Regions from separate parts of the Homo sapiens genome. Here region 1 is linked to region 2. Evidence: promoter capture Hi-C in 16 types of primary human blood cells and fetal thymus (Javierre and others, 2016). All regions are on one chromosome and are shown on one strand. Each heading gives the region's core, a stretch centred on a gene start or on the middle of the fragment in contact. The rest is flanking DNA. Distances are from core to core; before and after follow the strand shown. Region 1 overlaps ATF6 (activating transcription factor 6). Region 2 holds the start of SPATA46 (spermatogenesis associated 46).

Region 1 (3,054 bases), core at 255-2,754, 520 kb before region 2:
CCCACATTAGATTTTTATAAAATGAGATCCTTGACTTGTTACAGAGCCAGAAGTGGGAACCCCTATATTCATCTCTGCATATTGGTTCCATCCACCAAACAAAATTGTTTCCTTTTCTTTTCTCCCTTAAACTTCTGTACATGCTTCTGTTTTAGCGCTTATCGCATTGTATTGTTTTCCTATATCTGTCTTCCCAGTTAAACTGCGAGCTTCTTAAAGGCAGAAGTCAAATATTTAATTTTGTAGCTTGGGCACATGTAGGTGCTTTGATTACTGAAAGATGGATATATGGACACAGTAATGAACAAATGATTAAAAAATTATTTAAACCATTGTTTGACAGGGTAAGATTACTTTCTAATGAAATAGAACTTGGTAATATGCCCTTGAAGTCTGATACCCTGACAAACCGCTTCTGAAAATCAGCTTACATAACTACCAGGGAGAATAAAAAGGCATAGTGCAAAGCAAATGCTGTGTGAAAGACAGGTTTCCAGTGTAGCATATGTGGGCCACTAATGGGTGTAGATTGAACTGTTCTCTTGCCAAGAGTCATCAATAAGAACTCTTTAATGATGGCTTAGTTCATAGATGTATTTTGGCATGAAGATCTCTGTGTTTAACTCAGTAAACAATAGGATCTAGTTTCATTATGGACTTTTCATACTTCTTAGGAACTTGTCATTGGGAAGATAATTATTTTAGACAAGCAGACATTGTTATATGTTCAGTAACACTTATATAGCTTGGTCATAAAATTTGTGGTGCTTGGACTAGCTTTTGGGCTCTTTCTTTAAACTTAATGGAAAGTGCCTTAAATGCCTTAATCTCCATAAGACACTTCTCCCAGACTAGAATGGACCTAAAGAGTTCTAATATCTGTCAGTGTTTAATTATTTGAACTGAATATGTCAGAAATCTTAGCAATGGAAGTTTAACAAATTTAAGTATAGAATGAACCAGTATAGGAAGATTTCATATAATTTTGTGATACAGTATTAAACTTTTTTTTTTTTTAATATTCCAGGGTGCTCTGGAACAGGGCTCAAATTCTCAGCTGATGGCTGTTCAATACACAGAAACCACTAGTAGTATCAGGTAAGACAGTGCAGAAGCTCTTGGCCAAGGAATTTAAAATAGCTGGTATTTTAAGAAAGTTGAAATTCACACTTCCCTTTCACCTTAAATTTGTTCTCATCTATGAGTTTTATATTAGTCATATACTCTAAGATATATATATATATGTATATATATATATAACATACTACTGAGCAGTTGGAATAAAGCCAGATAATTTCAAAAGTTCAACTCTCCCAAATCCCTTAAATACAAATTTAGTCAGAATGCTGTTCCATCATAATTTTGATGAAAATCTTGAATACCCATAGCTTTCTTGCCCTTGATTTGCATCTGTTTCATGAACCTAGGGAAGGGAATGTTATTTTTTGAGTGCTCTGTACCAGGTGTCCTGCTGAGTGTTTTACATGTATTTTATCTTTAAATCCATGTAATAACTAAAAGTTTATTTTATATATAGAAAAACTGGTCAAATCATTTATTTTTTTTGTAATTTTCAGAGTCATAAGACCTAGTGGTAGACTCAGAATTCAGATCATAGCTGTTTTACTTACAATGCATTTTTCACTACACAATAATACTTAAGATTTTGAAAGATTTCAAAGAGAATGCTGTATCTACAGGTTTAAATGTCTTCAAAGGGAAATATAATATGGGAAGCAATATGGTGTCATGGTTAAGATGCTAGCTTTATTTGCCCTGTTGGGCAGAGTTCAAATTATAACTCTACCTCTTACTTTGTGGGCTCAAGCAGATTACATGCAATTGAAGTTTTCTCATCTACAAAATGCTGGCTGCACAGAGTTGATATAATGGTTAAATTAGATAATATATTTAGAGCACTTAGCATGGTACATAAGTGCCCCCCAAAATGGTAAATGATAATGATGTGATGTCATTGACAACAGTATCACTGAAGTGAAATTTGAGGATCTCAGCTTCTATCTGTAGCTCTACCACACATTTGCAGTTCACTTATATGAATTTAACATTTACTTAGAATATACTGTGTGCCAGTGTTCTAGGCACTGAGAAAAAAATATAGATAGATAGATAGATAGTAAAAATGAAGTCAAAAGCTATTTTATTCATTATACTAATAACTGAGAATTCCTATTAAATGACAATGAGCAGCATATCAGCAATCATGAATGTTTAAAATCCTGAGATTGTATTATCCTGTTGAAATTGATAATTCAAATATGTTTAAATAATAACTAATCATTCTCTGCTAACCAGAATATATCATTCAATTACATTTATTTTAAAAATATATCAATTTTTGGATGCATGGTTATAATGGCATGGTATTTCTTCATTAGTTAAAATGTTTTAGTGAATTACAGCCAATTTTCATTATTTGTGGATTCCATATTTGCTAATTCACCTACTAAAATCTGCTAAAATGTATTTGTAACCCCTAATATTAGCAGTGCTTTTGTCATCATTTGCAAACATGCGTAGATGCTCCCTGGTGAGGTTGAACAAGGCAGTGTTCTGCCTTTTAGTCTCAGCTATATAAACAAGGTCCTTTTCACAGTCCACATTTTTCATATTTTTGTGCTTTTTGTTGGTAATTTTGCTGTTTGAAATGGCCCCGAGGCATATTGCTGAATTGCTGTCTAGTGTTGCTAAGCCGAAGCGGGCTGTGATGTGCTGTGTGGAGAAACTACGTATGTTAGATAAGTTTCATTCAGGCATGATTTATAGTGCAGTTGGCTGTGAGTTCAAGTTAGTGAATGAATAATATATGTTAAAGAAGGTATCTCTAAACAGAAACACATAAATAAGGTTATATATTTATCACTTAACAGAAATATTGTAACCAGAGGCTTGCAGGAACCTAACCCTGTATTTCCCCCAGGAGGATGGTTTAGGATTCACTAATTCATTGCTGGCAGTGACTTTTTAGAACATAACTATCACAAAATAGCAAGAAGCGACTATATATTCAAAATATTGTAATCAGAAATGGCC
Region 2 (2,970 bases), core at 292-2,791:
ATCCCTTGCCTGACAATGATGCTTTGGTACTGGGGTGGCAGGGCCTGAGCTGGGCTGGATGCCTCAGTGGGTACTGCTGTCTTTGCAATGTCTGGGTTATAGAAGAAACACTGGTGAGCTGAGCAAGGTTGGGATTCCACTTTCTGGGACTCCCCCAGGCATACCTAGGGGCTCAACCTCTGTACTTCAAGGCATCTCAACGCTGAAACAGAACAGTGACCTCTCAAACTCAGCCAGGCAGAGCTATTCTGGATGACATCCTGGGGAATTCTGAATGGGGCCATTTCATTCAGGCCTCAGAAAGATCCTCTGGAAAGTGGGATTTATGATGTAGCCCAGATGACACCTCTCCGCCTGGCCTGCCCCTCACCTAACCCTCCTGCATCTCATCACGCGGATGGCTTCACTCCGCATTGCCAGTCTCCTGAGCATCCTGGGACCCAGAGTCACAGGCTGCAGAGCAATGTTCCATGCCCGCTTTGAGGATTGTCCAGTTGAAACATCTCATACCCACAGTCAGGGTTCCCGTGGGCCATCACTGCACGGCACACCCTGGAGTGCTAACACTTGGACAAAAAGCTGACCTGCCTCAAATCCCAGAATAGCAGCTGTGTTCAGTTTGGGGGACAAATTTATAAATGTCATATATGTAGACAAATGGATGCTTAGGAGGCCTACTCCACTGAGCAGTACTTCTCCATTTTACTGTGCATAGAGATCCCCTAGGGATCTTGTTAATAACACAGATGCTGATTCAGTGGATCTGGGGTGGGAACCTGAGATTCTGCATTTCTAACAAGCTCCCAGACGATGCAGACGTTGCAAGTCTAAGGACCGTATTTTGAACAGGGAGTCCTCAGGGTGTCCAACTTTATTCCATGATGTGCTCATCAGTTTACGCTGCTGCTTAGGCTTCTCTGATTTGGCTAACTCCAAATCCTCTCCAAACTTGTCAAAACAGAGCTAAAACTAGTTTCTACTCTATGTAGACATACTGCCACCTTGAGATTTCATGCACAATCTAGGGGGAAAAACTTGATGATAAATGGAGACTGAGGCAGGAGAATCACTTGAACCCAGGAGGCAGAGGTTGCAGTGAGCCGAGATCACATCATTGCACTCCAGCCTGAGCGACAGGAGTGAAACTCTGTCTCAAAAAAAAAAAAAAAGTTTTCCCCTTTCTTCCCTTACCAAAAATCAATACACAGCAGTAACTACTTACCACAAATGCAGCATTTTGAAAAATTATTTTCTCCCCATGCGTAATTTGACTTTCTCACTAAATCATGGTCCTGTAACATGATCTGGTAGGGTACTCAATTAAAAGCTTCAAAAAAAACCACATCTTTGTGGCCCTAGTGGCACCAAAGTTTACCTGGCAGGCTGGTGGCACGAGAGAACATAATGTCGGGAAAAGCACTCAGGGCGGAGGAAGAGATTGGAGGTCCAGAGATGCTGAGGAGTGAGAAGTTCTCCATATTCTGACCACTGCGGGGGTACAGAGATCACACGCCTGCTCTGGAGAGGCTGGCTGGTTTGTCCAGAGGATAAACATTCTGAGCACAGTTGATGTCACAAGGCACATGATTCCACTACCAACTAGGTTACCCTTTGGAAGATGAATGGAGTCTACTGAAAGCAAGATTAAAATGTGTAAAGATTGTATTTGACTTGCCATTGCCCAGTGGCAGGCCCTGATTGACAATACCCAGAGAGAAGAATGTAGTAGAGATACTGTAGTGATGCTGTCTATTTGTCCCCTTTTATCTTTGTTATCATCAGTTTTCTGTGTTGACACTGTCTACCCCCAGCCCTCCAGCCCTGGAAACCTCTGTCCTGTCTGAATAATCTCCTTCCTTTTCTTCTCCTTTATCAGCCTAATCTCTGTCAGCAAATATTTTTATTGTTTTGTTTTAGTTTGTTTTTTGAGGTGTATATATTTTTCACATTTTCTTTGGAAATTCAAATTTGTAAAAGTTGCAGAAATTAGGCTGGGTGCAGTGGCTCAGGCCTATAATCCCAGCACTTTGGGAGGCCAAGGCGGGTGGATCATTTGAGGTCAGGAGTTCAAGACCAGCTAGACAAACATGGTGAAACCCCATCTCTATTCAAAATATAAAATTTAGCCATGCGTGGTGGTGGGTGCCTGTAATCCCAGCTACTTGGGAGGCTGAAGCAGGAGAGTCGCTTGAACCTGGGAGACAGAGGCTGCAGTGAGCTGAGATAGCGCCACTGCACTGCAGCCTGGGTGACAGAGCGAGACTCCATCTTAAAAGCTGCAAAAAATAAAATCAATACAAAGAACACCCTTATGCCCTGTATCCAGATTTTCCTATTAACATTTTACCCCATTTGCTGTATCCGTCCCCTTCCTCCTGCCCCCTGCCCCATGTGTATGTGTATATACTTAATTTTTTCTGTGAACTATTTGAAGGTAAGTTATAAACACTATGTCCTTTTATACCTAAGTACTTCAATGTGTATTTCCTAAGAATAGGGGCCAAATATTGTTTTCAGTGGTTGGTGCTCTTTTTAGCAAGTGACTAAAGCACAAATGGGTGGCTTACTCAATACTATTTTGCTCATTGCTTAAGTCAGTTTGATGGGGAGACTCTGGGACTCCAGAGAGGCAAGGTTGCCTCTTCGTTTCGCTTGTCCTATAACAACCTTGTGCACTAACGAGGTGTGGAATAAGGTGAAAGATGATTGTGACACTTGGAAGATAAGCTGAAGACACCCCTTTCTAGATTATCACAACATGTCAACTAGATACAGAGCAGGGCTGCAGATCTAGATGGCAGGTATGTTTATGCTGCATGGGGAGCTATGGCCGCTCTGGAAATAGTGATGGGCTTGTTTTGCAGTGCTGTCGAGCATGTGTGAGTGAGGTGTGAGTTAGCTTCTGCACGTGAGAGCCCAGAGTTGTCTTCCTGTGTGTATTTATTCACGGTACTGAAACATTCGAAGGAC

The links. Contacts are between HindIII fragments. The CHiCAGO score rates a contact against its expected background, and 5 or more counts as called.
Region 1: a contact is called between a fragment that was not itself captured here and the fragment with the promoter of SPATA46 in region 2, in 1 of 17 cell types (M0 macrophages). The highest score is 5.4, in M0 macrophages.

What each region holds. Positions count from the first base shown.
Region 1 is chr1:161,859,180-161,862,233 of GRCh38, forward strand. ATF6 (activating transcription factor 6) reads left to right here. Exons shown (of 16, transcript NM_007348.4): 13 at 1,028-1,098. Among named protein-coding and RNA genes, the nearest start is that of ATF6, 94 kb to the left of the region's middle. The HindIII fragment of the contact is 4,155 bases long and covers 1-3,054 here.
Region 2 is chr1:162,375,313-162,378,282 of GRCh38, forward strand. SPATA46 (spermatogenesis associated 46) reads right to left here and starts at 1,542. Exons shown (of 3, transcript NM_182581.4): 1 at 1,376-1,542; 2 at 1-91. The coding sequence starts at 1,478. The HindIII fragment of the contact is 3,530 bases long and covers 1,326-2,970 here.